Regions from separate parts of the Homo sapiens genome. Here region 2 is linked to region 1. Evidence: promoter capture Hi-C in 16 types of primary human blood cells and fetal thymus (Javierre and others, 2016). All regions are on one chromosome and are shown on one strand. The core of a region is centred on a gene start or on the middle of the fragment in contact, and the rest is flanking DNA. Distances in the headings are between cores, read along the strand shown. Region 1 holds the start of GRHL1 (grainyhead like transcription factor 1). Region 2 has its middle 8.9 kb from the start of SNORA80B.

Region 1 (3,306 bases), core at 1-2,500:
TGAAATATGTTTCAGGCAATAATTTAACTGCATATTCTACAACATAAGAGTAATCCATTTAAGATACTCCATACAAAATATCTATCTCATCCAGAAAAAGAACACACTGACAAAAACCGATCCTTCACAAATAACTAAGAAACTGGGAGGGGTACCTATCTGCCTTAAACTTCCTGATCTGAAATATACTGACTGGCCTGGTGCGATTTCCCTGTTTTTTCTTTAGTAAGTTTTTAAAATTTTTAGGACAATTTTATATTTTCAGAAAAGCTGCAAAGAAAATACAGAAAACTCCCTCGCCCAGTTAATCCCCCATGCCTTATTACACTACCACCTCACATTTGTCGAAATACGCTTTTAAATCACACACTCTAAAAAGCATATTAGCTTGTACAGTACTTTCTCGTTTAACACCCGGATTTCAAAGTTTCATCCTCTTGATTCTCTCGAGCACTAAAAACACGGTAATCTGTAATTACCATCAATGATGCAAGTGGCAAAATAACTCCTACAGCCGTTTTCCCACTCATGCCGCCAGCCAGGGAAAAGAAAACGCCCGGACATCGGGGCACTTCAACCTTTCCCTACATTTCTGTTTTGGAGGTTCCAGCAGGTCGCCGAGTGACGAGCCTGAGACCACAGATTACCTGGAGAAGTCCACCTGTCCCGACGCGGCGCGAGCCCCACCAGGCTCCCGAGGCCGACCGGGCAGGAGAGGGGGGCGGGGAGGCCCGGGGGCGTTGGCTGCGCCCCGACCTCGCGCCGCACCCGACCGCGCCGGGGGCCCGGACCCCAAGGTGCGCGCCCGAGGGGACCCAACCTGGCCGCGGAGGAGGGGAGGAGGGTGGCCCCTCCGGTGTCGAGTTTCCCCGAGGACAGGGTCTCTCCTCCCGAGGCTCCGACCGAACAAAGAGCACGGCAGGGCTAAGGGGCAAAGGCCGTGGCGGCGTGGAGTGGACAGCGGCCCCCGGCTCGCGCCCCGCGCCCGCCCGCCCGCGCGGCCTCGGGTCTGCGCCCGGCTCGCTCGCTGCAGGTGCGGCCCCTCAGCGCGGCCCCCCCGCGGCGGCCGGACTCCTGCGCCTCACTCACTTGTCGTACTCCTGTGTCATCGCGCCCGCTCGCCGCTGCCGGGCCGCAGAACTGGACTTTCGGGTTGGGACAGTACACCCGATCCGGGGGGAGGAGGCGGCGGCGGCGGCTGCGGGTCCGGAGCGGCGGCCCCGACGGGTTGGGTTTGCTTTTCTCGCTCTGAGCCGGCTCCGCGCGGGCTGCGCGCACTGGGCGCCGGGCTCGGCCGCTCATTGGCTGGCGATGCGCCGGCTGGGGGCGAGGCCTCGGGGCTGGGAGGCCGGTCGCGCCTCCTGATTGGTCGGCGAGAAGAGCGCCGGGGCGGGGCTGACGGGGACGAGCGGCGCGGGGCGGGGGGCGGGGGCCGCGCGTTCCGCGAGGTTGCGCCCGGGACTGCGCTCCCGGGGCTGCGCGCCCGACTCGCGGCCGTACGCGCCTGCCCTGACAGGAGAGGGAGCGCTGCGGCTGCGGCGCGCACCCGCCAACCTCCGCGCGCACCGAGAGCGCCCCCGCTCGCGCCCCGCCACCGCCCCCGCCGCCCCCGCCGTCCCCGCCGTCCCCGGCCATCCCCTTCGCGACGAGCCCCGGCCGTACAGCCGCCTCCTTCTTCGCTCACTCAGGCCTCCGCGCCCCGTGCCCACATTGCCCGCTGTTCCGGCCCCAGCGCCCCGCGCTGCCCCTGCGCTCGCCCGGCGGGGGCGCCTCTGCCGGTCGCCGCGCTCCCCGGTCGCGCGTCTCACCTCTCGGTTCTCGCAGGCTGTCACGCCCGAGTCCCGTGGCTTCCCCCGAGAGCCGTCTCCGGAATGTCCCTTCTCCTGGCCCACCGCGGCCGCGCGCTTTTAGGATTTCTTGCCCTCGCAGCTCCCGCGGTCCCCTCGGCGGCAGTCCCTGGGGCTCCGCGATGTCTGTGCCCCGCAGCCTCCCGGGCGCCACTTCCCCGCGCGGCCGCCCCACGCTGCCCGTGCAGTCGCGCGCCCCGGGCCGGCCCCGGGCACCACTCCACCGCGACGGCCCCCACTTGTCCTTCCCGAGCTGCCGTCTTTCCCAGGGTCCGCTCACTGAGTCCCCACATGCCCAGCGTCGGACCTGACCCTCGGACAGGCGCGGCCCCAGACGCCGGGGACAGGGCAGTCAACAGAACAGACACAACTCCTCGCCTTCCTAGTTGGGGTAACGGGCAATACAAAAACAAGTAAATGGTGTGGCTGGTTGGAAGGTAAAGCAGGCAGGCCCTGGGGAGGCGGGGAGGAGCGAGGCTTTCAGGCTTGAAGGAGATGAGGGGCCACGAAGGTGGGACTGTACCTGAGGCAGGGACCCTGGTGTGTTTTGTGACCCTTGAGGAGACCCGGGTGGCTGGTGGGGCACAGGGAGGCGGGAGCTGCGGTCAGAGATAGTGGGCGCAGGGGAGCGGATTGAGCAGGGCCTTGCCGGCTTCCGTAAGGACTGTGGCTTTCCCTCTGGGCTAGGTGGGGACGCCTTGGAGGGGCTTGGAGCAGGGTAGTGACAGGGTCTCACATTTTAAAATAGTTCTCTGCTGCTGCGTGGTGGGGACCAGGTAGGAGGCCATTGCCATGATGCAGGCCGAGGGCAATAGAGTGAGGTGGTGGGAAGTGGCCGAATTCTGGATATGCTTTGAAGGTGGGACCAGCAGGATTGTCTGAAAATTGGATATGGGGTGTGAGAGAAAGAGAGAATCAAGGATGACTACAGCGTTTCCAGCTGGGCAACTGGAGGAATGATTTGCCATCCCCTGGGATACAGAAGACCTGGGGCATAGAAGATTTGGGGGAGAACGAGAGTCTGTTTTGGACGTGCTAAGCTCAAGATGTATGGGAGATAAAAATCCATGAATCAGGTGGGCTCCTGGGTACGAGGCTGGAGTGCAAGGGAGAAGTCTGGGCTGAAGCTCACATCTGGGCGCCGCCCACGTCTAGAGGCCATTTAAAGCCATGAGAAGGCAGGAAGGAAAGAGGATGGGACCCATGCTGGATCCAGGAGCCTCCGACACAGAAAGGCTGGGAGGAAGAGCCAGTGGAGGAGACAGAAGACGGGGACACCGAGGTCGGAAGCAATGGAAGCGTGGAAGCCAAGGGAAGGAGGTGAAGTGAGGAGCAGCATGAGGTCACAGGGCCCTCCTGCAGCCAGCAGTCCCTCCTCTGTGCCCTGGTCCAAGGCCTTCAGGGACCGGAATCGGCAGCCTCACTTGAGACCGCCCTTCGCAGTTTCTGTCCTCTGACC
Region 2 (2,954 bases), core at 372-2,871, 490 kb before region 1:
AGTCCACAGCCCTACCTTCCGGGAGCCTGAGAAGTAGGATGCTGGTGTGTTTGGGTAACTCTGAGCTCCCCAACAAGGGCAGTTCCCTGGGATCCGGGACCCACTATGTTAAGAGAGTTGGCACTGAGTATGTACTGTGTGCCAAGAAATTTGAGCTAGACACCAAGCCTAGAATCTTGGTAAATTAGGTCTTCCATCTTAAAAAGGAAGAAATTCCCGAGATCGCTTAGTGGCAGTGGTGAGCTTGGACTGAAAAGGGGGGTATTCCACTCAAAATCAACTAAGGCTTTGGAAACAATGCTCTTTCAGCCAGTTAGGGAAAATGTAATCCAACAACGGTCAGTAGTGCCAGTGGGGACAGAAACAGCCGCAGGTAATCCCGTGCTACACGTGAGTGGCCCCTGAAACCTCGCTTCTGACCACAGCTTGGCGTAGCCACTTACAGGCCCCAACAAAGCCAGACTTGGGTCTGTGAAATGATGTGGCCAGGCTTGATCAAGTGATCTTCCTTGGCCCTTGTACATGGGAGCAGGCAGGCGAATTTGGCAGGAGAGACCAGAGAACGAGGACAGCCAGACGGTAGCCGGGGCTGTGTCGACACCAGGCACCGTCCTCCAGGAGGCTTAAGTCCTGCTTTGCATTTGGGTATCTCCACGTCATTTTTAAAGATGGTGCTGTCTGGTCGTGCACAGATACTGGGCATTTCTAGACTCGTGACTTGAAGTGAATACAGCTCCACCAAGACCACTTGTGAATTTCTTCCTGGCGTGCTGGCCCCCGGGAGAGGGGATTCAGGGGAATTGAACTATTGGGCAAAGGTAAAGGCAGCCAGAGTGCATTAGAATCACTTAGGGTGCTTCTTAAAAATACTCATTATTGCCCCCTGACCACTTTCCCCAGACTCTGGGGATGGAGTAGTGTTGGAGCAACTGGAGAACCATCTGGAAGACATAAAAGTATCCCCAACTCCTGCTCCAAAATACATTCCAGATAGATGAAAGTTTTAAATATAACAGATTAGACCATAAACCTACTGGAAACAAAGTCAAAAGGCAAGGGACCAACGGCTACAATGCCCGTGAAAAGGACTAATTTTCTTCATATTAAAAACAACAAATCAATAAAGTAACTATGCAATAGAAAGTGGGCAAGGCATAAACTTGGCTCACAGTAAAGTTTTTTTTTTTTTGGTAGGCAGAGTCTCACTCTCACCCAGGCTGGAATGCAGTGGCACCATCTCAGCTCACTGTAACCTCTGTCTCCCGGGTTCAAACGATTCTTCTGCCTCAGCCCCCTGAGTAGCTAGGACTACAGGTGCATGCCACCACACCGGGCTAATTTTTGTATTTGTAGTAGAGACGGTTTCACCATGTTGGCCAGGCTGGCCTTGAACTCCTGGTCTCAAGTGATCCACCCGTCTCTGCCTCCCAAAGTGCAGGGATTATAAGCATGAGCCACCACGCCCAGCCAACAGTAAACTTTTTGAACATGAAGACATTTGTCAACCAAAGGAAACACACAGTAAAACTATGAGAATCTATTTCTCACCTATCAGATTGGCAAAGACAAGAGTTCCCCAGCTCGCGGGGTGAGCAGGTGTGCTCAAGCACTGGGCGGAAAAGTAAATTAGAGCAACAGTCTCTTTGGAGGGAACTTGATAATATCAATAATCCACATTATCTTTGACCCAGCAGTTCTAAGAATTTCTCTGATGATACTCTTCTAAAATTATTCATTGTGGCATCATTTGTAAACAATCTCTTGTACACAAGCAGGTACTGATGAAATTGTCAATGGAACGGGATATACAGTGGTTAAGGAATGAAGCAGATTCATCAGTACTGATAAGGAACAAGCTCCAAGCTAGATTCAGTGAGGATAGCAAAGCAAGGGGCACGTGTAGTATGCTACTGTGTGTGTAAAAAGCAAAATCAAACCCCAACAAACTGTGTGTGTACATACATACTTGCATATGCATGGCATATTTCTGGAAGAGCTTGTAAGAAACGGGTAACAGAGGTTGCCTCTAGGCAGAAGAACCAGAGGCCTGGGCCGAGAGTGGGGACTGGCTCCACACTGCGCTTTTGATATTGGAATGTATTACTGACTTTACGAGGATTGTAAAATAGGTTTCCCGCGTGAAGACATAAACTCAGAGATGAACTCAAGTCACGCAGATAGTGAGGCAGCATTCAAGCCAGGTCAGAGGACCCCAGCATTCATTCGGTGTTTCCCTACCCTGGGAACATGCTGTTAAGCAGCTGGAGGGTGGCTTGGGCAGTGGACTGGCTCAGGGGGACATGGTAGAGTTGCTCACGACCTGGTCCTCACCTTTGCAGGGTCCAGGAGGGCTGGCTCATGCCAACCCAGCTCATGAGGCCGACGAAGGCAGCAGACCCATCAGAAGCCAAAGATGGGAACATTCCTGGCACATCAGCAGGTGGTCAACCCCTCCCTCCCCGACAGTGTCAGGGCCAGGCACTGCCCCTCACAGATAGCCTGCAGCAACCAAGGGCAGGCCAGAAGCCGGTGGGCAGAGCAAGCCACGTGTGCCCCCTGCGGCCCTCTTGAGCCCTGGCTGATGCCCACTTTGCACTTTCTCGTGGGTAGGGCCTGCCCCTTCCCGGGCCTCACTCGGCTTGTCTTGTGAAGTCATGTGCTCGTCACACCCCAGCAGTGACCTCTGCTACTGGGACCACACATCTCTTCGCAGGTTCCCTCCTTACTAGATTTTCCTAAGTGACTCGAAGTGGCTGGCTAGCCCCTTCCGCTTAGGGGGTTTTCTGGCTGTCACCCTGTACCCTCTTTGACATGGGCCCTCCCCCATGCTGGATCTGGGGGTTTGCTTTGCACCATCTCTGGGCCCGGCTGGAAAACTGCCCCTGAAGGCAAGAGTCGACCCATTTCAAATCGGGCTCTGTCCCCACCAGGGATTCCCGAGAAGCCTCAGTGCC

The links. Contacts are between HindIII fragments. The CHiCAGO score rates a contact against its expected background, and 5 or more counts as called.
Region 2: a fragment that was not itself captured here is called in contact with the fragment with the promoter of GRHL1 in region 1 in 3 of 17 cell types (monocytes, non-activated CD4 T cells and activated CD4 T cells); the score reaches 6.4 in monocytes.

Annotation. Positions count from the first base shown.
Region 1 is chr2:9,949,637-9,952,942 of GRCh38, reverse strand. It overlaps GRHL1 (grainyhead like transcription factor 1), which reads right to left and starts at 1,250. Exons shown (of 16, transcript NM_198182.3): 1 at 1,090-1,250. The coding sequence starts at 1,109. It overlaps LOC105373422 (a long non-coding RNA gene), which reads left to right and starts at 2,090. Exons shown (of 3, transcript XR_922784.4): 1 at 2,090-2,238. RefSeq lists silencers at 960-1,499, 1,590-1,639, 1,740-1,789, 1,940-2,019. The HindIII fragment of the contact is 14,804 bases long and covers 1-3,306 here.
Region 2 is chr2:10,436,478-10,439,431 of GRCh38, reverse strand. No RefSeq gene overlaps it. Among named protein-coding and RNA genes, the nearest start is that of SNORA80B, 8.9 kb to the left of the region's middle. The HindIII fragment of the contact is 5,238 bases long and covers 1-2,954 here.